Regions from separate parts of the Homo sapiens genome. Here region 2 is linked to region 1. Evidence: promoter capture Hi-C in 16 types of primary human blood cells and fetal thymus (Javierre and others, 2016). All regions are on one chromosome and are shown on one strand. Each heading gives the region's core, a stretch centred on a gene start or on the middle of the fragment in contact. The rest is flanking DNA. Distances are from core to core; before and after follow the strand shown.

Evidence for each region. The method cuts DNA at HindIII sites, captures the fragments that hold promoters and counts their contacts. A CHiCAGO score of 5 or more calls a contact.
Region 2: the fragment with the promoter of PIK3R2 here is called in contact with the fragment with the promoter of CIST1 in region 1 in 16 of 17 cell types (neutrophils, total B cells, naive CD8 T cells and 13 more); the score reaches 17.3 in neutrophils.

The regions. Positions count from the first base shown.
Region 1 is chr19:18,251,008-18,258,324 of GRCh38, reverse strand. CIST1 (colon, intestine and stomach enriched 1) reads left to right here and starts at 2,963. Exons shown (of 4, transcript NM_001396036.2): 1 at 2,963-3,105; 2 at 5,854-6,261. The coding sequence starts at 3,018. It overlaps IQCN (IQ motif containing N), which reads left to right. Exons shown (of 4, transcript NM_001145304.2): 4 at 219-1,227. The coding sequence ends at 1,145. It also overlaps a transcript of PDE4C not described here. The HindIII fragment of the contact is 13,123 bases long and covers 1-7,317 here.
Region 2 is chr19:18,151,779-18,158,953 of GRCh38, reverse strand. PIK3R2 (phosphoinositide-3-kinase regulatory subunit 2) reads right to left here and starts at 5,791. Exons shown (of 16, transcript NM_005027.4): 1 at 5,660-5,791; 2 at 2,753-3,497. The coding sequence starts at 3,074. RefSeq lists enhancers at 1,470-2,328, 5,941-6,220, 5,526-6,418, 6,961-7,040 and silencers at 4,921-5,140, 5,451-5,830. The HindIII fragment of the contact is 8,629 bases long and covers 1-7,046 here.

The DNA of each region.
Region 1 (7,317 bases), core at 1,714-4,213:
TAAGGCCCGTCATCCGCACTGGGGAGATGACACACTCCTCGGTCATTCCTCCGCTGGCCCCGGGAGTTCGGAGGGTGTCTCTAGGCTATGAGTCTTCCCCAAGTGGTTCCCTGCCACCCCTTTTTAACCAGGAGTCACCGTGGAGACGGCAGGACTCCTATAGCCCCCAGAATCCTGCCGTTAGTCACAAGGCATCCCTGAACTCCACTATACTCCAGGGCCCCGCGGACGCTGGTGTGGTTGGTGGCCAATCGTGGAACCGCGCATGGGAGCCAGCCAGGGGTGCTGCGTCCTGGGACACCTGGCGCAACAAGGCGGTGGTGCCTCCCAGGCGGTCCGGGGAGCCAATGGTGTCCATGCAGGCTGCAGAGGAGATCCGCATCCTCGCAGTGATCACTATCCAGGCGGGCGTCCGTGGCTACCTGGCGCGTCGCAGGATCCGGCTGTGGCACCGGGGGGCCATGGTCATCCAAGCTACTTGGCGCGGCTACCGTGTGCGGCGGAACCTGGCACACCTCTGCAGAGCCACCACGACCATCCAGTCTGCCTGGCGCGGCTACAGCACCCGCCGGGACCAAGCCCGGCACTGGCAGATGCTCCACCCCGTCACGTGGGTGGAGCTGGGCAGCCGGGCCGGGGTCATGTCTGACCGAAGCTGGTTCCAGGATGGCAGAGCCAGGACAGTATCTGACCATCGCTGCTTCCAGTCCTGCCAGGCACACGCTTGCAGCGTCTGCCACTCCCTGAGCTCCAGGATCGGGAGCCCGCCCAGCGTGGTGATGCTAGTGGGCTCCAGCCCTCGCACCTGTCATACCTGTGGACGCACACAGCCCACCCGTGTGGTGCAGGGCATGGGCCAGGGCACTGAGGGCCCCGGGGCAGTGTCTTGGGCCTCCGCCTACCAGCTGGCTGCCCTGAGTCCCAGGCAGCCGCATCGCCAGGACAAAGCGGCCACAGCCATCCAGTCCGCCTGGAGGGGCTTTAAGATCCGCCAGCAGATGAGGCAGCAGCAAATGGCAGCGAAGATAGTTCAAGCCACCTGGCGAGGCCACCATACCCGGAGCTGTCTGAAGAACACAGAGGCGCTCTTGGGACCAGCAGACCCCTCGGCCAGCTCACGGCACATGCATTGGCCTGGCATCTAGGACCCTGGCTCCCTGCAGTGGGGACTTCGTGGGAGGCACTCATGGCTCTCTGGGTCTAATGAATAAAGTCCTCCACAGCCTAGATCTTGGGTGATGTGTTCTGGGTTAATGGAAGTGGCTTGGGTATAGTGGGGGAATCTGGAACATCCCAGAGGGAAGAGAACTCTGAAGTTACCAACCATGCAGTATGCATCTGGGGTCTGTGGCCAGCATGGGGACCTCAAATCTTTCCTGGAGGTCAGGCACTGCCAATGTGGTCTCAGCTGTGCCTCTGCCATATCCACGTACAGGTAGTGGGGTGGTGTCCAGCCCGTCCCAGATGGAAACTGTCCCCAGTGCACTCTAGAAATGTGCCTGGGACCTGGCCCAGAGCACTCACCTCAAGTCCCTCACCCCTAAAAAATCCTACAGGATGGCTGGGTGTGGTGGCTCATGCCTGTAATCCCAGCACTTTGGGAAACCAAGACGAGTGGGTCACCTGAGGTCAGGAGTTAGAGCTATCAGCCTGGCCAACATGGTAAAACCCCATCTATACTAAAAAAAAATACAACAACAAAAAAAGGCCAGGCACGGTGGCTCACGCCTGTAATCCCAGCACTTTGGGAGGCCGAGGTGGGCAGATCACCTGAGGTCAGAAGTTCGAGATCAGCCTGACCAACATGGAGAAACCCCGTCTCTACTAAAAATACAAAATTAGCCGGCCATGGTGGCACATGCCTGTAATCCCAGCTACTCAGGAAGCTGAGGCAGGAGAATCGCTTGGACCCGGGAGGCGGAGGTTGTGGTGAGCCAAGATTGTGCCATTGCATTCCAGCCTGGGCAACAAGAGCTAAACTCAGTCTCAAAAAAAAAAAAAAAAAATTAGCCGGGCATGGTGGTACACGCCTGTAATCGCAGCTACTTGGGAGGCTGAGGCGGGAGGTTGCTTGAATCCCAGAGTTTGAGAATGCAGTGAGCTGTGATTGTGCCACTGTGCTTCAGCCTGGGCGACAGAGTGAGACCCCGTCTCTTAAAAAAAAAAAAAAAAAGGGCTGGGCACGGTGGCTCATGCCTGTAATCCTAGCAGTTTGGGAGGCCGAGGCGGGTGGATCACTTGAGGTCAGGAGTTCGAGACCAGCCTGGCCAACATGGTGAAACCCTGTCTCTGCTAAAAAATACAAAAATTAGCCAGGCCTGGTAGCGGGCGCCAGCTACTCGGGAGGCTGAGGCAGGAGAATTACTTGAACCCGGGAGGCAGAGGTTGCAGTGAGCCAAGATTGCATCACTGCGCTCCAGTCTGGGTGACAGAGCAAGACTCCGTCTCAAAAAAAAAAAAGAATAAAAGAAAGAAAAAGAAATCCATAATAGAAATGCTAGAAGGTTAGAAGGTTTCAGTCATGTCCCCAAAAGGCCCCAGTCTGGGTGAGACAGAGGACAGAGGAGGACGAGGACAGAGAACAAGGACATCCCCAGCCCTGTGGGTTCAGGGATCGGAGGGAGGTGGGAGAAATTGGTGCTCCCAGAGGGGACAACCTGGCTGGACGAGGGGCAGAGGGAGTGACAGCAGGGGTTTGGGCAGCTGTGGAACCAGGAGCAGGGGGAAAGAGGACGGCAGGGGCAGGGTGTCTTTAGTGGATGACTGGCTTTGAGAGCTTCTGGGTCGTCGTGTTTAGAAGGGGTGGAGTCCAGGTGAAGAGGGCGAGAACCGCACCCGGGGGAACAGGAGCGCCCCAGGGAGGTCCCACACCCTGCAGCCCCACCTGCGCCTTGCCCCTGCACAGCCCCGCGCTCCGCCAGCAGGGAGCGCACACGCAGGTGCAAGGAGCTGGCACCTGGGCACACACCTGGCCACACACCTGTGCAGAGCCGGTGGCAGGCCCTCCCGGCGCAGGAATGGCGTGCCCCCAGCTGCCGCCACTTCTGCTTTTGGTGCTGGTGGTGCTGCTGAAAGCTGGTGTGAATTACAATACTCCCTTTACAGGTAAGAGCTGGTAAAGAGGCTCAGCTTCCAGAAAGCGGAAGGGTGGGGGTGGGGGACGCACAGCCCAGTCACACACCTGGCTTCTGGACCCCTCCCTCAGGCCACGCTGGTCCGCCAACCCTCCGAGGAAGGCTGGGTTTTCCCCCAGAAACAAACGGAGCAGCTGTGAGGACAGATGAGGCACCGCTGCTCCCAAGCCCTGGGGCTGTGGGTCCTGCAACTCCAGTGAGCCCTGAACCTGCTGGAGGCCACAGATGGCCTCACACCTACTTTTGGGCTCCTTTTCAAATCTGTTGCTTTTAGCCAATCCCCAAAGGGAGAATGGTGAAGACCTCAGGGCCATGGGGGTTCCAGGGAACAGGGACTCACTTCCTGGTCATCAAACATCTGTGGTTCCCATGAGAAGTTCTTCTGGGTGTCTGACTTAATTCCCTCTTGCTCTCCTATAAGACAGTGCCTAGGGTGGAGGGGAGGAGCCTTGAGCTTCTCGCATTCCCTTTTTCTGCCCTTTACCTGCCACTATGTTGTCACTCTCTCTGACCGGTGTCCTACCCCACAGACCTGTAATAGCAGAGCAGAGGCCACCATGGCTGCTGAAATGCTCATTGCAGGGAAGGGTTTCATTCAGAAGGCACCACTTTTATCCCCATTTCATAGCTCAGGAAACTGAGGCTCAGTCCAGCTTGTCCCAGACCCAGATTAGAACTGGTTGACTTGGCTCATGTGAGCCTCCCAGTCTAGGAGTCTCTGGGGAGAGCAAACACCCAGCACAGTGCCTAGAAACATCTTTATTTTTACCTTCTGGTCAACCCTTCAGCAGCTCACCAGTGCCTACTCAGTGCCAGGCACTCAACAGGGCTTGTGTCCTCCAACTCTTCCTTTTTCAAGTCCACAGCTTTTCCTCAGTTCACTAAGCACTCAGCTCCCCAGAATTCTGACTTGGCTTGGGGTCCACTCTGGCCTCTGAATCATCTTCATTTCAGCAGAAACAGAGGACAAGGGTCCTTGAGGGGCGTTCTTCCCAGCTCCCCAGTCACCTCAGGCCAGACCCTCTGCTACTCTGAGCCTCAGTTTCTCATCTGTCAAATGGGGATGAAGCCCAGCCTGAGTTCCATGCCTCTTCTAGACTCAGCCGTCATCCCCACAGGGCCTGGGGGGCTACATAGAGATCTGGGGAGGGTGGCATGTGGACCCAGCCCCCTCTCAGGGCCAGTGTTGTGTGTTATTTCCGCATTTCTGCTGCCTAGGGTGAGTCAAGGAGGAAGCACAAAGTTTGGCCCAGAGCAGAGTGCATGGGTGGAGCAGAGAGTTGATGAATGAACTTGTAAGTGCCTAAGAGGCCCAGTCACCTGGAACTGGGTGGGAAGTCGTTGTGGGAGGTGGCTCATGAACTGCTTACCTGCCCTCAGCCTGGTCCCTGGACTCCATGCCTGGGATGGGATGTGAGCCAGGAAGTAGCTGGACCAACACGTAGAAGGGTGGGTTCCGGAGACATGTTCCCAGCGCCTGTGTCTTTGTGTCTTCCATTAAAGTTGAGGTTAGCCTAGGGCTACCTGGAGAAAATTAGGGCTGATCCTCTCTGAGCTCATAGGTGGATCTTTATAGTTGAGTGTCACTGTGCACCCACTGTGTTTCTATTCTATTGTGTGTGTGTGTTTTTTTTTTTTTTGAGACGGAGTCTCACTCTGTTGCCTAGGCTGGAGTTCAGTGGCATGATCATGGCTTACTGCAGCCTTGAACTCCTGGACTCAAGCGATCCTCCCACCTCAGCCTCCTGAGTAGCTGGGACTAGGCATGCACCACCATGCCTGGCTAATTTTTGTTTTATTTTTTTGTAGAGACAAGGTCTCATTATGTCTCCCAGGCAGGAGTGCAGTGGCGCAATCATGGCGCACTACAGCCTTGAATTCCTGGGGTCAGGCAATCCTCCCGCCTCAGCCTCCCCAGTAGCTGGGAGCACCCAGCTTGTGTACACCCACTATGAACCTGACTGATGAACTGTCAGAGGCACCAACTCCACATGAACTCCATTTTACAGAAAAGAAAACTGAGTCCCAGAAAATTTAAAGGAGCTGCCCAGCACTGCCTGGGATGCAGTCACTTCCCATATCCAAAGGGCTTCTAGAGCTCTCAGCCAAGAGGACTGGGAACGCTGATCTGCACTTGAACCCAGGCTGTGGGACTTCAGACCAGGAGCATGAATTTGAGTGGGAGCTTCAGTTTCCCACTGAGAGCTCACATGGTGTCCTAAATCTTTCAGGTCTCCCTATGACCTGGACAAAAAAATAAATTAATTAAAAATAAAAATGAAAAGGCTGGGCATGATGGCTTATGCCTGTAATCCCAGCACTTTGGGAGGCCAAGGCAGGTGGATCATCTGAGGTCAGAAGTTCGAGACAAATCTGGCCAGCACAGTGAAACTAAAAATGCAAAAATTAGCCAGGCGTGGTAATGCACGCCTGTAATCCCAGCTACTTGGGAGGCTGAGGCAGGAGAATTGCTTGTACCCAGGAGGTGGAGGTTGCAGTGAGCTGAGATGGCACCACTGCTCTCCAGCCTGGGTGACAGAGCGAGACGCCATCTCAAAAAAAGAAAAAAAAAAAGAGAGAGAGAAAGAGAGAGAGAGAGGGTCTCGCTATGTTGCCCAGGCTGGTCTCTAATTCCTGGGTTCAAGTGATGCTCTCACCTTGACCTCTCAAAGTGCTGGAATTACAGGCGTGAGCCACCGCGCCCAGTTTTTCTTTCCAGATATTGTGACCTCAGAGAACAGTATGGAGACATCACCTGTCAGCTCTCTGATTTCTTCTCCCTTCGCCCACAGCACCCACAGTTCAGGGGAACCCCCCAAATCCTACTCCAGCACCATGAGTTTGGAGACAGACTCCATAACCCACCTCAGCCCCTCAAGTTCAGGGGCAACCCCTACCATCCAGCCGAGCCCCAGCTCCACAGATTCAAGGATGATACCCTCCTCCCCACAACCAGAGACAATCACGCACCCTAGTTCTGGCTCCCCCAGTGCAGAGCTCACCCCCTCTTCCCATTCCACCCTCCCCAGTTCCGAATCCCTGACCCCGCACTGGAGCCCCACTTCCCACAGCCCCGGAACGGAGCCCTTGACCTCCACTGACCAGACCTTGGAGCCCCCTGGCCCAGGTGAGTATTAAGAGATTTGGGTGTTTGTAGGGAGGTGGCGGGTGTAACAGGCTGCAGTTTTGGAACTGACCACCAGGGGGAGGTACAGCCCCGAGAATGCTCTAGGAAGGGCTTCTTGTCTCTGCTCCATTGTCTAAAGCTCTTCATGCTATGCGCATTTATTAAGTGCCTAGTGTATGTCACGGCTGGGCACGCAGCGATGGGCAAAGAGAGAAACTAATACTTGCTGTGGTGGGGAGACAGGTTATACATTATGTATTTGGGCCTGGGCAAAATAGCAGGACTTTGTCTCTACAAAAAAATCTAAAAATGGCGGGGCGCGGTGGCTCAAGCCTGTAATCCCAGCACTTTGGGAGGCCGAGGGCGGGGGCGGGGGCGGGGGGGGCGTGTATCACGAGGTCAAGAGTTCAAGACCAGCCTGGCCAAAATGGTGAAACCCCGTCTCTATTAAAACTACAAAAATTAGCCAGGCGTGGTGGCAGACGCCTGTAATCTCAGCAACTCGGGAGGCTGAGGCAGGAGAATCGCTTGAACCCAGGCGGCAGAGGTTGCAGTGAGCTGAGATCGTGCCACTGCACTCCAGCCTGGGTGGCAGAGTAAGACTCTGTCTCAAATAAATAAATAAATAAAATAAAAATGGCTGGGCGTGGTGGTTCACATCTGTAATCCCAGCACTTTGGGAGGCCAAGGTGGGAGGATCACCTGAGGTCAGGAGTTCAAGACCAGCCTGGCCAACATGGTGAAACCCCGTCTCTACTAAAAATACAAAAAATAGCCAGGCATGGTGGCGGGCGCCTGTAATCCGGGCTACTTGGGAGGCTGAGGCAGGAAAATAATTTGAACCCAGGAGGCGGAGGTTGGAGTGAGCCCACATTGAACCACTGCACTCCAGCCTGGGAGACAGAGCAAGACTCCATCTCGGGGGGGAAAAAAAAGACTCTATCTCAAAAATAAATAAAGTAATTGATTAAATAAAATTTAAAAATTAGGCTGGGCTCAGTGGCCCACGCCTGTAATCCCAGCACTTTGGGAGGCCGAGGCGGGTGGATCACCTGA
Region 2 (7,175 bases), core at 4,542-7,041, 100 kb after region 1:
AGGAGAATCGCTTGAACCCGAGAGGCAGAGGTTGCAGGAGCCAAGATTGCGCCATTGCACTCCAGCCTGGGCGACAAGAGCGAAACTCCATCTCAAAACAAAACAAAACAAAACAAAAAGATACATTAATTAATAAATAACATTTCCATTGTTTGAAGCCACCTAGTTGGTGGTAATTTTTGCGGCAGCCACTGAAAGTCATATAGCAGGTTTGGGCTCTGCCACAACCTGCTGTGCAATCTTGGCCACAGGACCTGCCCTCTCTGGGCCTCAGTTCCTTCAAATGAAAAATGGGCCAATGACATTGCCTCTCATTTTTTTTGAGACAGGTTCTTGCTTTGTCACCCAGGTTGGAGTGCAGTGGCGCAATCCTAGCTCACTGCAGCCTCAAACTCCTGGCCCCTAACGATCCACTTGCCTTGGCCTCCTCGTTTTTTGTTGTTGTTGTTGTTGTTGTTTTTTTGAGATGGAGTCTTGCTCTGTCACCCAGGCTGGTGTGCAGTGGCATGATCTTGGATCACTGCAACCTCCATCTCCCGGGTTCAAGCGATTCTCGTGACTTAGCCTCCTAAGTAGCTGGAATTATAGGTGGGTGCCACCATGCCTGGCTAATTTTTGTATTATTTTAGTAGAGATGGGGTTTTACCCTGTTGGCCAGGCTGGTCTTGAACTCCTGACCTCAAGTGATCCACCCGCCTTGGCCTCCCAAAGTGCTGGGATTACAGGCATGAACCACTGTGCCCGGCCCGCTTCTCCCTTCTTGATGCAAACAAAAAAGTGGTTGAAAGGAAAGAAAAGAAAAATATCCCGGCCTGGGTCAGAACAGCTTCCTTCCAAGGACCATGACCCGTTTTCTTAATCATTTTGCTTCTAAAAAATTATTTCTTCCCCAAATTAAAATTTAGAAAAGAAAGAAAATTATTGCTCCCCTTTTGGAAAAGCTGAAACCCCTCCTAGCGGGTGCCGGCGGCATCCTGGGCCCAGCCCCCTCCCAGCCCTGGCTTCCCAGCACTACAGGGCCTTTTGTGTGCAGCATCCCCGCCTCAGCAGCTCGCTGTCTGCCACCATTGGACGCTGCTCTGGCCCTCGGCGGGGACGCCCTGGCACACAGCAGGGGCAAGCCGGGGCCTGCGGGGCCTCCCTGAGTGATGGGCCAGGTGGCGCCTCAAGCTGGAGAAAGGCCCAGCTGCAACGAAAACGCCAAAAAAAAAAAAAAAAAGGAAAAGGACAAGGAGGAGGTGGAGGTGGGTGACACTCTGGCCGGTGGGTTGGGAAACTCAACCCTGAGAGTGGCCTGGGATCAATCTGCAGAATGGGGAGGGGGTTCCCATCAGAACTGCATCACCCCGACTTTGCAGGTGAGGAATTGTGGGTCAGAGGGGCTGCAACCTCCCCCGTGGGTGCACAGCCAGGTGGGGCTCAGGTGACTTCAGCACATTTCCGAGGGGTTGGGTCCCAGCATCCCCAGGGACCAACCCTGTTGTTTCCAGATGAGGAAACTGAGGCCTCGAGGGGGCGGGTTCTGGCCGAGGTCACATAACCCTGGAAGATTCAGAGGGTGGGGCTGGGCAGCCGCCCCACGTGGGGCCGTGTATGGTGGCTGGACAGAGGCCAGGCAGAGGAGGGAGGTGGCTGTTACCAGGGGGAGAGGCAGATTCTGGCTGGGAGCCCAGACGGGGCCACCTCCTGCTCCTTCAGGCCGAGGCAGGACGCAGGCCTGGGCCCTGGAGATACCAGATGCCTGGAGGCTGGGGCCAGCGTCGCACCACCTCAGCACCCCCTATTCCGCCCTGCGCTGGGGGACTCTGGTTTGCCTTTGGGCAATGTCACCCTGGCACAAAGCAGGCCTGGCACCTCCCGGGGCTTTGGCCTCCCTGGGTGACCAACTGGTTTCAAGTACGGCATTTGACGGCCTTGCACTCAGGCCTCCCGGTCTGCACACAGGGCCTTTTGCTGGGCTGCTGGGAGGGTCGGAGCAGACCATGCCGAGCATGCAGCACCTCTTAGCCTCCTCCTTGCAACCTGGGCCACAGTTTCCCCGGCCAGAGCCCACACTCCCTGCCCATCAAACAGCAGTCACTGAGTGGGCTCGGTGCCCCCGATTCTCTACACCTGGCACACCCCTGGCAAGTGGTGATGGCCAAGGGTCTTTGAAGAGGGATGTGGGGTCCTCATATCCCACTGTGCTGTGTGGCCTCAGCTGAGCAGCCCACATCCTACCCTCCTTGTGGCTTCATTTTGGAAATCAGGGTCTCCAAAGGGGTTCTTCAAGGGACCCTGTCTGCAAAAGGCAGGATGAAGCTAGGCTGAGCCTCTGAATCCTACTGAACACTCTCCATTGTCCTCAAAATCAATCCCACTAAGTCCTCCATGCCAGCGCACATTGCCCTCCCCTTCCTCCCTCTGGTCCTCCTGCTGGCCGTTCCCGCCATTAGAGTTCTACTCCACAGCCTCTGCCCTCGCTGCCCCCACTGCCTTGAGCTTCCACCCTCGCATCTTCCCACGCAAGCCCCCTTCCTCATGGCATGTGTCACCTCCTGAACCCACTCTCATCCCTTCTTGAACCAGAAGCTCATGAGGGCAGGAACAGGCCTTGTGTCCACTGCTGAGCCTAGCACTGAAGACACTTGTCAAATGACCAAATGTCCTTTTTCCTCCTTCCTTGGAGATCCCATTGCCTCACTGGACAGAAGAGGAGACCAAGGGTCTGAGGGGACCACCCCCCTTTCCAGGGCCCCTGCTTGCTGCTCACCTGGCTCAGGGGCCCCATCACGGGGCCTGGCGGGCAGTGGGCGGGGGCCCCGTGGGCGAGGGCCGGGCCGGGCCAGGGCCACGGGCCCCAGGAACTCCACATAGGTGCCAGGGAAGTCACCTCGCTGCCGTGTGCGCTCGTTGAGGCCGGGCATCCAGCCCACGCTCTGTGGGCAGCGCTCGCCACCCTCGGCCACGCCCAGCGCCTGCAAGGCCGCCCGGCTCACTACCAGCACGTCGCCGGGCAGCAGCTCCAGGTCCTCCGGCCGCTCCCGGCGGAACGGGTACAGAGCGCGGTACTGGAAGCCCTCAGGGCCCGCCATGGCCGCGTGAGTGGGGTGGGGTCTGGATGGTTAGGTGGCTGCTTGGAGCCCCACTGGCCCCATTGGTTGAAGCAGGGCTGGGAGGGTCCGCTGGGTTGGCTTGGGGTGCTGGGACCTCTATCTCCAGCAGTCACAGGCGACCACAGGGGCCGCTCATGCCTCGCTTCAAATTATTCCATGACCCTTACAAGGGCCACTCGTCACTGGGTCCACCATTCGTCAGCTGGTGGGAGGGAGTTGGTGGTGTGGTGTCAGGTCACTGGGCCATTGAGTCCTCCATCAGCAGGTGAGGCTGGGGCAGGCCGCTCACGCCCTCACACGGAGGGCCATGGGCGCCCAAGGCTGGCGGCTCTGCTGGCTGCACCAGACAAGGGAGCCAAGGGTGCAGGCTGCCACCATGCTCGGCCAGCTGAGGACGCCGACCTAGGGAGACAGGGATAGGGCAGCGTTAGCCAGGCCAACTCCTCTCACCCCCAACACGGAGATGGGCCCAAATCCTGATTTGGAATTCCCTGAATCACTGGGTGACCTTGGGGCCGGTCCCTCTCAGGGCCTCAGCTTCTCTATCTGTAAAATGGGTATACTGACAGCCTTCCCTTGGAGCTGCTGGGAGTAGAGTTCCCAAGAACCTGCCCCAGGTATACTACATGCTCAGTAAATCAGTTTTTTTTTTTTTTTTTTTTGAGATAGAGTCTTGCTCTGTCACCCAGGCTGGAGTGCAGTGGTGTGATCTCAGCTCACTGCAACCTGTCTCCCAGGTTCAAGCAATTCTCCTGCCTCAGCCTCCCGAGTAGCAGGCCACCACACCCAGCTAATTTTTGTATTTTTAGTAGAGACGAGGTTTCACCATGTTGGCCAGGCTGGTCTTGAACTCCTGACCTCAAGTGATCTGCTCGCCTTGGCCTCCCAAAGTGCTGGGATTACAGGCATGAGCCACCTTGCCCAGCCTTTTTTTTTTTTTTTCCAATAGAGGTGGGGTCTTGCTATGTTGCCCAGGTTGGTCGCAAACTCCTGGGCTGAAGCAGTCCTCCTGCCTCTGCCTTCCAAAGTGTTGGGATTACAGGTGTGAGCCACCGCGCCCGGCCAGTAAACAGGCTTTTCATCACCCCTGTTACAGATGGGGAAACTGAGGCTCAGAGCAGGGAGGTATCTAGGGCCGTGCAGTAGGCCAGGAGGAAGCCAGGACTTACACCTAGATCTGCCGACTTGGCCCAGTTGGACATGAGGGGGCAGCAGCCAGGTGGCCAGATACCTAGGGCAGGGAGGACGCAATGGAGGCCACTCCGGGTGCTTTGGGAGCTCCATAGAGGGGTCAGGCCAGCTGAACTAAGAGGTAGGGAACAAAGTCCAGGAAGAGGCCTCTACACAAGCAAAGGCCTCGAGGTGAGTCCAAGCAAATGGACCTCCAGTCTCTGCAGAGGAGGAGTGAGTGGGCTGGCAGGTAGCTCCAGCCTGGGGCCCAGAGTAGGCACAAAATGCAGATGGGGAGGTGCTTAGAAGGAACCTTAGCCCCAGGCAGGGACAGGGAGCCAGGAGAAGGTGGGGGTACTGCAGCTGAGGAGGAGGGGAGGCTGCCGGCAGCAGGGCATTGATTATTCCCCAGGAGTCCCAGCCTGGGGAGGCGGAGATAGGCACACATTCCCAGCCTAGCCCTGCGGGTTCAGACGCCCTGTGATGGACAGGGCTAGGGTCGGGGGATGGACGTGCTGTTCTAGAGAATGGATCATCACAGCGGATAGGAAGGCGCGACAGGCAGACGGAACGGCACATGCAAAGCCTTGGCAGTGGGTTAAGTTGCTTGTCAAGGATTCAGGGTGGCTATAAGGATAGGTGCTATCCACCAAGAGGCCCGAGTGTCAGGTGGAGGCTCTGAGCATCCTTCAGTCACGGGGAACCCCAAGAGGTGTCCGAGCAGGGCGGAGGGGCGCCACATTCTCGGGTGCCCAATTTACCCATTCCTAGGCCTCTGTTACCCTCATTCTACAGGTGGGGAAACTGAGGCCCCGAGAGGGGATGCCCAGAAAACCGCCTGGATCTGCCTGCCAGCCCGCCCCCACGCCCCGGTGTGCGCGCCCCGGGAGCAGCGCTCCCCGAATCCGGGAGGCGGGAGGGGCGGGGCAGGCAGGGCTGGGGGCTCCGCGGGTGAAGGCAGGGCCTGAGCGCTCACACAGACGCGCACTTGGGTCTGCGTGGACCCGGCCACCCGGCTAGGGGACCGGAAGTGGGTTCGACCCCCGGCCCTCCCGCACCCCATTCTGCCCCGCACAATGCCTGGGCGCCCCTCGGTACTATTCGAAGCCCCATTCCAGGCAGGGCCTCCCTTCATTTGGGGCCTCGGCTCCAGTCCGGTATCTTGGACGCGGGGAGTCTCTCCCCATTCTGCCCCGACCGTCCCAAGGAGGCTGCACCGCTGCGGAGCCGAGCCCGAGGCCCCCCCTTGCCTGCGGCCCCCCCAGTTCCCGCGGGGCCCGACGCAGCCTGGCGCTTGCGTTCTGGCTTCCACCGGGGCCCGGCACTGCCCCCGGGCGCCCCGCATTTAAGCACACTCCCAGCCGCCCCCGCCACGAGGGCCAGTCAGGACTCACCTGGTCGCGGCCGCCACCGCCGCCGCAGCCGCCGTCACACCAAGCCAAGCCCGCCCCGTGGCTCCACCGCGGCCACCGTCGCCGCAGCCGCGGGATCCCCGCCTCCGCCGCCGCCACGGTTCCGAGCGGCCTGGCCCGCCCCCGGCGGAAATGCCCGAGCGCATTCGAGCCGGGCGGATGAACCGAGGCCGAGGCGGAGCCTGAGGTAAGGGGGCACCCGAGTGTTTCCGGAAGTAGCCGAACGTAATCCCGCGGGACTGGTGGACTAGAGGGTGCCCCCGAGACAGCCGAGCGTTTCCAGAGGTAGCCGAGTGCAATCGGGTCGGCGAGGGATCCGAGACTGGGCTCGGCTGGGCTTAGAGACGCCCGAGCGCTTTCGGAAATGGCCGAACACTCTCTACGGCCGCACTGGCACAACTGAGGCTGATCCCCAAGACCGCGGAGCGTTTCTGGAAATAACCGAATGTGCTCAGTGCCCAATGGAGGCCTTGGGAGTTTAGACCCAGAGGCGACCGCCAGCTTATGGGAATTACTGAAGCATAGATGGTTCCAGGGGACAAATGAGGCGTTCTCAAGCTCAGCAAACAGGGGGCAGTAGAGTGGGGAAAGGGCCTGCCGCAAAAAGCAGAAGTCGGAGAAAGCCAGGGTTGAAGGAGTTTCCATGGCAACCCAGAGCGTCCGGAAACAGCCAACGATCTCGACCCCTACGGGCACTAGAATTTAGCGGACTTGAGCCTAGATGCCGACGGTTTCCGGAAATAGCCGAACGCACTCGGAGATGGGGCTGTAGCCAAGAGTGTTTGCATGCCGGCTGAGCGCCCCGGAAGTAACGGATTGCTCTAGGGCTGGGCCGGGTTCGGCTAGAGGGAGTTTTATGGCAGAGCGCAAGCTAAGACCAGGATAGAAAGGACGCGACGATTGCTTATTTTGTTATTATTTTTTGAGACGGAGTTTCGCTCTTGTTGCCCAGGCTGGAGTGCAATGGCGCTATCTCGGCTCGCCGCAACCTCCACCTCCCGAGTTCAAGCGATTCTCCTGCCTCAGCCTCCCGAGCAGCTGGGATTACAGGCATGCGCCACCACGCCCGGCTAATTTTGTATTTTTAGTAGAGACGGGGTTTCTCCATGTTGGTCAGGGTGGTTTGGAACTCCCGACCTCAGGAGATCCGCCCGCCTTGGCCTTCCAAAGTGCTGGGATTACAGGCGTGAGCCACCGCGCCCCGCCGCTTATTTATTTTATTAACATAGCCCAGGGCGCCCAGGAGGTCGAGGCTGCAATGTGCCGTGATTGCGCCACTGTACTCCAACCTGGGTTACAGAGCGAGACCTTGTCTCAAAAACATAAAAATAAAAAACATAGCTCAGGGCCCAGATGTCTGGAGGAAGCTTTTAAAGGCAGGGCTATGATGGAGTACTCGCAGGGAGAGGGTAGCAGGAGGCTGGTACCAGCGATGGCATCAGGAAGAATCTCAACAGCGAACTGCTATGCAGTCCTCAAAACCCACTTGCAATGACTT